2 separate regions of the Homo sapiens genome follow, and region 1 is linked to region 2. Evidence: promoter capture Hi-C in 16 types of primary human blood cells and fetal thymus (Javierre and others, 2016). All regions are on one chromosome and are shown on one strand. Each heading gives the region's core, a stretch centred on a gene start or on the middle of the fragment in contact. The rest is flanking DNA. Distances are from core to core; before and after follow the strand shown. Region 1 overlaps PPP1R16B (protein phosphatase 1 regulatory subunit 16B). Region 2 holds the start of FAM83D (family with sequence similarity 83 member D).

The links. Contacts are between HindIII fragments. The CHiCAGO score rates a contact against its expected background, and 5 or more counts as called.
Region 1: a contact is called between a fragment that was not itself captured here and the fragment with the promoter of FAM83D in region 2, in 4 of 17 cell types (naive B cells, total B cells, total CD8 T cells and 1 more). The highest score is 8.0, in naive B cells.

Annotation. Positions count from the first base shown.
Region 1 is chr20:38,811,882-38,816,237 of GRCh38, reverse strand. The region is part of intron 1 of PPP1R16B (protein phosphatase 1 regulatory subunit 16B); the gene reads right to left. Among named protein-coding and RNA genes, the nearest start is that of PPP1R16B, 8.4 kb to the right of the region's middle. The HindIII fragment of the contact is 2,586 bases long and covers 1,174-3,759 here.
Region 2 is chr20:38,923,494-38,928,285 of GRCh38, reverse strand. It overlaps FAM83D (family with sequence similarity 83 member D), which reads right to left and starts at 1,869. Exons shown (of 4, transcript NM_030919.3): 1 at 1,361-1,869. The coding sequence starts at 1,843. RefSeq lists enhancers at 207-296, 1,682-1,781 and a silencer at 1,892-2,251. The HindIII fragment of the contact is 27,857 bases long and covers 1-4,792 here.

The DNA.
Region 1 (4,356 bases), core at 1,217-3,716, 110 kb after region 2:
AGCTGGGTTTCCCCACAGGCTCCCTCAAACAAACCCTATTTGTGAACATGGAAACTACCAAAGAGACTATTCTAAAATTACTCACCCCTTCCTAACTTCCCACTTCTTCTGCTGCCCCCACTAAGGATAAGCTCCATTATTTTTTTTTTTCTTTTTGCTTCTAATCAAGTTGTTTTCTTTTGAGAATTTCAAGCCTCCTCACACCCTGGGACATAATGCATACGGTATTTTATGAATTCATTTGTGATATTAATGAATATAGAGTTTATCAAACAAAAGTTAGCTAAGCTTATGCATTTCTCTAGCACAATGTGAACCATACAGTTTTGCTCTCATTTTATTTGTTCATTTGTCTGCCAACTCCAGGAGATGGGATCAACCTGAGGGCAAAAGCTGGTTTCATTTAATTTTGTATCCAATTCCAAGCCTAAGGCCAGGTACAATGTAGTTTCTGAATATTTGATCATCATTATGTAGGCATAATCCAAAGGGTCATAAAATCTAAAAATTACTGTAGAACCTTATGCAGAAATGTTCTGCTTTATATCTGTCAGACTGACAAAAATGAAAGTTACTTAATCCTCAGTGCTGGAGAATAGATGGGGGAAACAGTCATACACTGTTGAGGAAACAGAAATTGGTTCAGCCTCTTTGGAGAACAGGTTAGCAATGTCTATCACAGTTGAAACTGCCAGGAATTTTCCTTATGAATAAAATCATCAGTATGTAGAGTATACAAAGATATATACACTGTTCAAACAAGGATGTTGCAACATTATACATTTGTAGGAGGAAAAAAACTGGAAACTATCTTAGCCATCATCAAGAAACTAGAAAACAAATGATGGTACATTTTTATCACTGGACTATCAGATAGCCTTAAAGATCCAGGTATATCTGTGTGTTGGCATGTGCTCAGATAAATTAGCTGAAAAAGAAGATCTCAGGAGAGTTTTGTATAGTTGTGTTAAAAAGAAAAATGGATAAACATGTAAATGAATATGGGTTTATATATGCATATGAAATTTATGGAAAAATACATAAAACATTTATAGATTTATTCCGGGGAAAAGGGATGAGTGGCTGAGAAGATGGGGAAAGTTTACTTATGATACACTTATATACTTTGTGTAATTAAAAAGCATGACATACAGCCATAGGAAAACAAAAGCTTAAGTTTATATATAAAAGAAAAAAAATGAATGACATTTTGGTGAAAATCTTCCCTATATTTTTATAAGGTAATTGGCAATGTTTATAAGGCAACATTTCCTCTCTATCCAGTCCATGGGATAGCCAACGACAGCAATAGTTCCAGAAAGAAAACAGGAGACAGAGAAAGTCACCAAAAAGAGTCAAGAGACCTAAAGAGAATAAGTGTCAAAATTTGTATGTTTTACTTGTTCTTGGATGTGAGGAAACAAAGGCAGTTCTGACTAAGAGTCTGAACTAAGACATTCTGAGAACTCTCCAGGCTGGCACAGACTCTGGGGCCAAGAAGCGGAGGAGACTAGGGATGCCCAGGTAAGTAATGGCCATAAGTAACCTAGTGAACAAAATGAATGACCCAGCTCCTGGGGACATAATGACACAGTGCTTTGCTCACCTATTTCCCTAGCTCCTGAATACTCCTAGGGACTAACTCTAATGATAATAATGCCATAAGAATAGTTGGCATGTATCAGGTACCTCCTACCTGCCAAGCAGAGGCTAAATGCCTAATCATATCAATTTATATTATACTATTATTATTCCTGTTTTACATATGGGGAAATTGTGGCTCAGCAAATACACACATGTAACTTACTCAAGGTTGCAGTAGGTGCTGGAGGTAGGAATCAAACCCGTACCTGACTCTAAAGCCAGCCAAGGTCATTGCTAGCCTTCCCCCCTCTGAAGGAAGGACAAGAAAAAAGGTACTCCCTCAGAGTAGGGATAGCCCCATAAAGAGAAGACAGCATTTTTATGCAAAGAAAGGGCCAGAGAGTGTAATGATTCAGTACAAGGACTTTGAAGCCGGATGTCCTGAAATGGAATCCTGACTTTTCCATTTACTGGCTGTGTGACCTTGAGTAAGACATTGAACCTCTCTGCTTCACTTTCCTGAACAGTAAAATCAGAGTAGCACTAAAGTCACACCTGGCCAGACACAGTGGCTCATGCCTGTAATCCCAACACCCTGGGAGGCCGAGCCGGGTGGATCACTTGAGGTCAGGAGTTTGAGACCAGCCTGGCCAACATGGTGAAACCCCTTCTCTACTAAAAATACAAAATGTAGCCAGGAGTGGTGGCGGGTGCCTGTAATCTCAGCTACTCAGGAGGCTGAGGCAGGAGAATCACTTGAACCCGGGAAGCAGAAGTTGCCGTGAGCCGAGATGGCACCACTGCCCTCCAGCCTGGACGACAGAGTGAGACTGTGTCTCAAAATAATAATAATAATAATAATAATAATAATAATAATAATAATAATGATGATGATGATGATGTCACCCCTTAGAGTTGTTAGGAGGACTAAAGGAGTTAAGTAGACAGCACCTGGCTCATAATAAGTACCAAGTGATTATGATGAATATTAAGAAAAAGGTGCCCGTCCCTCTAAGCAGATGCAACCCTGCAGGGTGCAGAGCTTGGCAAGTGGATCCACAGGCTAGATTTCAGCCTCTCCTTTAGCCGAGTGCCACTGTGCCCATCAGCAATACACAACTCTACAACCTTACATAGGTCCTGCTGAGCAATTAACCTGCATGTACTGGCAGTTCTTCCTCCCACCTTCCCTTCCATCAGTCTGGCTGTGAATCAGAATCACCTGGCACACTTTGAGAAAATACAGACTTTCAGGGCCCTATATTGGCTGATTCTAACACAGGTGGACTGGGCTAAGGCCCAGGCATCTGTACTTCTCACAAGTCCCAGGTGACCAGATGACCCAGGAACACCATGTACCTGGATACATGTTTTTGAAAGTACTCAAAGCTCATCATTCTAGCTGACATTCTGGCTGTCTGAGTTGCTCCTTGAGACCAAGCATCCTCTTTGTCAAGTCTGGTCCCAGGCCTGGGCACACAGAGAAGGGGCACAGTGAACATCTGTGACTCCGCAAGCCAGCCAGCACAGCAGATGGCTGTGTGAACAGGCACAACAGGCTGCATTTGCTTTCATGCTTAAGCGGTTTGCACCAGGGAACCCTCACCTGTAGACTTGGGGTCTCCCATACCCTTGCTTCTCAAAGTGCAGTTCACAGACTAGCAGCTTGACACCCCCTGGGAGCTTGGTAGAAATGCAGAAAACTCCATACCCAGCCCTACTGAGTCAGTTTCTGCATTTTAGCAGGAAACCAAAGGGGATCCATATGCAAGTTTGTGGATACGCCCTAGATCCCTTCTCCCTATCCAAGTAAGTTCTAACCAATGGGCACATCTAACCTGTTCAAACACCCTTTGGGGCCAGTCTTCTCCTTCAAACTCCTACAGAGACCCAGAAGAACAGCACAGTCCCTTCAACAGCCCAGACTCACACTTAGCAGCCAGCCTAAGGCTCCAGGTGAACCTTCACTTTAATAAGTTATTTATTTCTAAGTCCATATTAAAATAAACCTTCCCAATAAATTGAAAAAGAGACACCTCTGGCCTCTATAATTCCAGGAAGTAAAACACCCTCCTCTTTCGTACAGAATTGAGACCCCTGCTTTCCTGCCTAAAGCCATCCAGGGACATCAAACGGTCCAAAGAAAACAAGCGATGTCTTCCCGTTGGCCAAGCTTCAAGTTATCAGGCAGATTTCACACTGCAGTTTGACCTCATTAATCCAAGGCCTATCACATTGCTGTAAATGTCAGTGGAAAATAGCCATTCAGTGGGTTTCCTTCATTCCACTAGAAAGGGACAAAACAGGAAGCTGACAAGCAGCTGTGCCCCAGCTTGGCAAATCCCAAGGGCCCAGCTGACAGCACCTATGCTCCTCTGCCCCAGCCTACTTTCCAGATAAAGACGGGTCCTGTATCTACATGGGTAAAATGCAGTGGTGATGGCAGGAACAATTCAGATAATCTGGGCCCCCAAGCACCTGCTTGGGAAGGAAAACAGAGAGCTCGGTCTGAATGTCTTTGGCCTGAGTTACTAATTGGCTGTTCATCATTCAAGTTCATCTAAATCTCTTCTGCCTATTCAAAATGTTCCACAAGCTAAACCCCTGGGACTCCAGGGGACATAAGGCCTTCCAAGTCCTCATTCATTCCTTTAATGCATATTGATTGTCTCCTGTGTGCTGGACATCATGCTGATCACGCTGGCCAACTGGAGACACACAGCTGAATGAATTGGACACAGTCACGGACCTTATGGGGCTCATCGTCCAGTG
Region 2 (4,792 bases), core at 620-3,119:
GACATGTCAACCTGACAATGCACTGGTATCTTCACCCACACTCAGACACACTCAGGTACCAGCCCTAACAAGTCTTAACATGGCTGGGGCTTTATCTGCCATGTCCCTGGCACAGGCAGATAGCCAGGGAGCTGGGCACTGCCAGTCAGCAAGCAACCTGACCATGGCTCCAGACCAAGGTGTCTGCCACGACACTCTATGTGCCACACCCACCTGCAGGCTGCCTTCTTCCTCCTTGATCCCCAGCACCCTGCTGCAGCTTTATCGAGGCTGGCAAGCAGACAAGACCTCCATTGCACCCATGACCATGCCATACTAAGAGTCAGACAGTAGGACCAAAACCCACTATGAATACAGAAGCCGATCTAATGCAAATGTATCTGCATTTTAGGAGACCACTGCAATCTGGCACAGACCCAGCCTATGGAAAACAAACCCCTTGCCCCAGTTTCCCCTCCAGTCTCTGGCAGTAGAAAAAGCGGCAGGGGGCCGGGTGCGGTGGCTCACGCCTGTAATCCTAGCACTTTGGGAGGCCGAGGCGGGTGGATCACCTGAGGTCAGGAGTTCGAGACCAGCTTGGCCAACATGGAGAAACCCCGTCTCTACTAAAAATACAAAAATTAGCCGGGCGTGGTGGCGGGCACCGGTAATCCCAGCTACTTGGGAGGCTGAGGCAGGAGAGTCACTTGAACCCGGGGGACGGAGGTTGCAGTGAACTGAGATCCCACCACTTCACTCCAGCCTGGGCAAAAGAGAATCTGTCTCAAAAAAAAAAAAAAAAAAAAAAGACAAGAAAGAAAAAGCGGCAGGGCTCTCACTTTGCCACTCTCGTGTTTATCTGCTTTTTACAGCAAAAGATGCATGAAAGTAATTAGCAATAATAATTGCTTCCTAATGCCCCGTAGTTGTCTCTGGAGACCATCTTTCTGGAACTTTCCCTGCGTAAGTTCTTTGGTAATGAGTCTCCTAAGAAGCTCCTGAAAGTGGGATCTAGCGTTGGCTGACAGACAGGGAAATAGGCAATTTTCCAAGTTTGATTTTAACTGAAATTTGGAACTCAGAGTACTTCTGGTCCCTCCTTCAGGGATATGAACGTTAGGAGATGGAACCCGGGCACAATTCGCATCCTTGGGAACCGAGGCTTTCCCACTATCCCCTGCCACGAGGAGCGGCCCGGGGGATCCGGGGGAGACACGCAGAGTGGGGTGTGAGTCGGAGACCCTGGGACCACCTAGCCCGCGCGCGCTTCCGGTAGGGCGCAGAGGAGGTAGTGGCCCCGGCCCGTACTCCCAGCAGGCCTCAATTTCCCATTCTTGAAGGGGGTCTCCCGTGCGACCCAGGGCCCTGGAGGGCCGCTCACCTCTCGCGCCGAGCGGAGCTGCTGGCGCAGAGCGTCCTTGCAGCCGTAGGGGCCACCTTCGCCAGCGCCGCGGGGCTGGAAGTGCGTCTCGACACGCGTGGCGCCGCGGTAGGCGCCCTGGTAGAAGGCGGGCCAGCCAAGCTCCAACAGCGGTGGCTCCAGGTCCGACTGCTCGGGGAAGTAGGTGCCCGAAGAGCAGTCGTGCGAGGAGCCGAACGAGTCCTCGGCCGCCGCCGCCGCCGCCGCGCCCTCCTCTCCCGGCCTCTCCGCCGCGCGCAGAATGGCGTGCACCTCATCGGGGTTCAGGAAACGAGCCAGGCGCTCGCGTCGCAGGAAGGCCGCGAAGGCTTCGGGGCCGCCCGCCACCAGCTCCTCCAGAGCCAGGCGCCGTGACTCGCTGAACAGCTCGGTCGGGTTGGGCGGCCCGCACGGCGACAGGCAGGCGGCGGGCACCTCGTCCAGGCCCTCGGACAGCAGAGCCATGGCGGCGCTCGGACTCGACAGCCCTCGGACAAAAACCGGCGTGCAGTCCCGCTTTATAGGCAACCTTTGAATCAAACAGGCCCGCGCCATTGGCCGCACCTCCCCGCCTCGGCTCTCCCATTGGCTGCTTTCCTTCCAATAGCGGAGCGAGGCGGGGCGCAAGCCTCTACGGCTCCGCCCCCTGATGCGTTATTGGCTGCGATGCTGGGCTTGCTAAGAGGAATTTAAACTTGCAGGGGCGAGGCGGGCCGCAGAGCAGGGACAGAGCGGGGAGAGCCGAGCTCCTGGCCATCCCAGCGCGCCCCCTGCCGGTCGCCCCGCTGCGCGGCCGTGCAAGGCCAGGGACAGTCAGGCCTAGACAACGAGGAGAGGCAGGTGCCGACTCCCGGAGACTCTGGCCACGCTGCTCCTAGGCTCTCAGTGCTTTGGCATGGCCAACCATATCGCCTTTATCACCTGCCTTTAACCATGTATTCATTCATTCAAAGAATACCGGCTCATCGTATTAGGACTGCTCCTTTGATTACACCCTCGGGTAGTCTTCTCTCATTTCATCGATTTTTGCCTTGTAAAACCCCAACCAACCGTGGTTATACCCTACTTTCCACCTGCACCCCGGCAGCCCTACAGGGCTGAAGAAAAAACAAAAAGAGCGTAACCATGCTTACTGACTGGTCATGTTTTAAATTCATAATCCGTAAGACTGCCTGCTAGGAGGCCGGGCGCGGTGGCTCACGCCTGTAATCCCAGCACTTTAGGAGGCCGAGGAGGGCGGATCACCTAAGGTCAGGCGTTTGAGACTAGCCTGACCAACACGGTGAAACCCCGTCTCTACTAAAAATACAAAAATTAGCCAGGTGTCTTGGTGTACGCCTGTAATCCCAGATACTCGGGAGGCTGAGGCAGGAGAATCACTTGAACGCGGGAGGCGGATGTTGCAGTGAGTCGAGATAGCACCACTGCACTCCAGCCTGGGCGACAAGATCGAAACTCCATCTAAAAACAAAACAAAACAAAACAAAAGCAAACAAACAAAAAAACTGCCTGGTAGGCCGCATTTCCCTCATTCTCTCTACCTTTTCCTCTCTGACAGCTTGTCTTCCATGTCAGCAAGAACACAGAAACAGTAAGAAGGGAACGTCCACGTGCGGCCATCTAGTCTACCTTCCTGTCTGCATCTCTGCCCGTATACTGGGCATTGATGAACTGTGCCTGTGCCCATCCAACCCCAACCCCTCTGCCTGGGCATTTCCAGCCCCTCTACTACTCACCAGCATCGCTCCAGCAATCTTCTTCTTTCTCCTGGAACATCAGCTTCCCTCTTTACCGATTCATTTCTATCAGCCTACAAGCATGCTGAAATATTTTTCATCTTAAAACAACCCTCTCTTGACCCTACATTCCTCTAAAGCTCCCCATCTCACTTCTTATTTTTGCAGCATAGAATCTCAGATGTGGCTGGCCATGGTGACTTACACCTGTAATCCCAGCACTGTGGGAGGCCAAGGGAAGAGGATCACTTGAGCCCAGGAGTTTGAGACCAGCCTGGGCAGCATAGTGAGACCCTGTCTTTACAAAAAAATACAAAAGTTAGCTGGGCATGGTGGTGCGCCTAACTTTTAGTGCATGGCAGTGCTCATGATGGTCCCAGCCAGTGGGAAGGCTGAGGCAAGAGATCACTTGAGCCCAGGAGTTTGCAGCTGTAGTGAACTATGATCACACCACTGCACCCCAGCCTGGGTGACAGAGTAAGACCCTGTCTCAGAAAAAGAAAGAAAGAAAAGAAAAGAAAAGAAACCCTCAAACCAGTTGTCTATACTTGCTGTCTCCAGTTCCCTTCCAGCCCTCTTCAATCAGGCTAAAACCCCCACTGCTTTACCAAAACCTCTTGTCAGGTTCATCATGAGTTCCACAGAGCTAAATCCAACAGTCAATTTTCAGTCGTCATCTTTTTTATGTAAATGAAAAGTGGGTCATAAATGTGAGATGTTACCATTATTATTTAGCAACCAATAACCTTTTTAAATGGATGAATGCCTGCCGCTGTTGAGACGCCTCTCCCTCTCTACCTCTCCTCTCCCCATCCCCATCCCTTTGTGAAGTTTCTCAAGAATAAGTGTGGGGACTTCCATGTGTCCCTGCGCTGGTATCCAGGGTCCGGGAGGCTGCAAGAGAGCACCTTCTTTTTTTTTTTTTTTTTTTTTTTTTTGAGACGGAGTCTTGCCCTGTCACCCAGGCTGGAGTGCAATGGCGTGATCTCGGCTCACTGCAACCTCCGCCTCCAGGGTTCAAACGATTATCCTGCCTCAGCCTCCTGAGTAGCTGGGATTACAGGCTCATGCCACCACACCTGGCCAATTTTCTGCATCTTTAGTAGAGATGGGGTTTCATCACGTTGGCCAGGCTGGTCTCGAACTCCTGACCTTGTGATCCGACACCCTTTTCATCCTCTTTCAAGAAAAACACCAACAAAGTTCTGTGTGGGACAAGGACCAAGGACTGTGGTCTGAGGCTGTGCAACCACATAGCTTCTCTATGCCTTTAATGCTCGAGGTAAAAAATGAGAATGGCCGGGGCCTTAGCTGCTGTATTGCTGTCATAAGGTGAAGTACTTTATAGTATCGTACTTCCCCACAATAAGCACACGAGGGGAAAGAGTGGAATGGGGCAGGGGGAAGAGGACAGGACATGTCAGTTCACTCCAAGAATGGGACAGAGGAGAGGGGCACCCTTGTTACATATAAATGTCATGAGAGGCGGGGCGTGGTGGTTCACGCCTATAATCCCAGCACTTCGGGAGCTCAAGGCGGGAGGATCACTTGAGGTCAGGAGTTGGAGACCAGCCTGGCCAACATGGTGAAACTCTATCTCCACTAAAAATACAAAAAATTAGCTGGACATCACGGCGAGCGCCTGTAATCTCAGCTACTTGGGAAGCTGAGGCAGGAG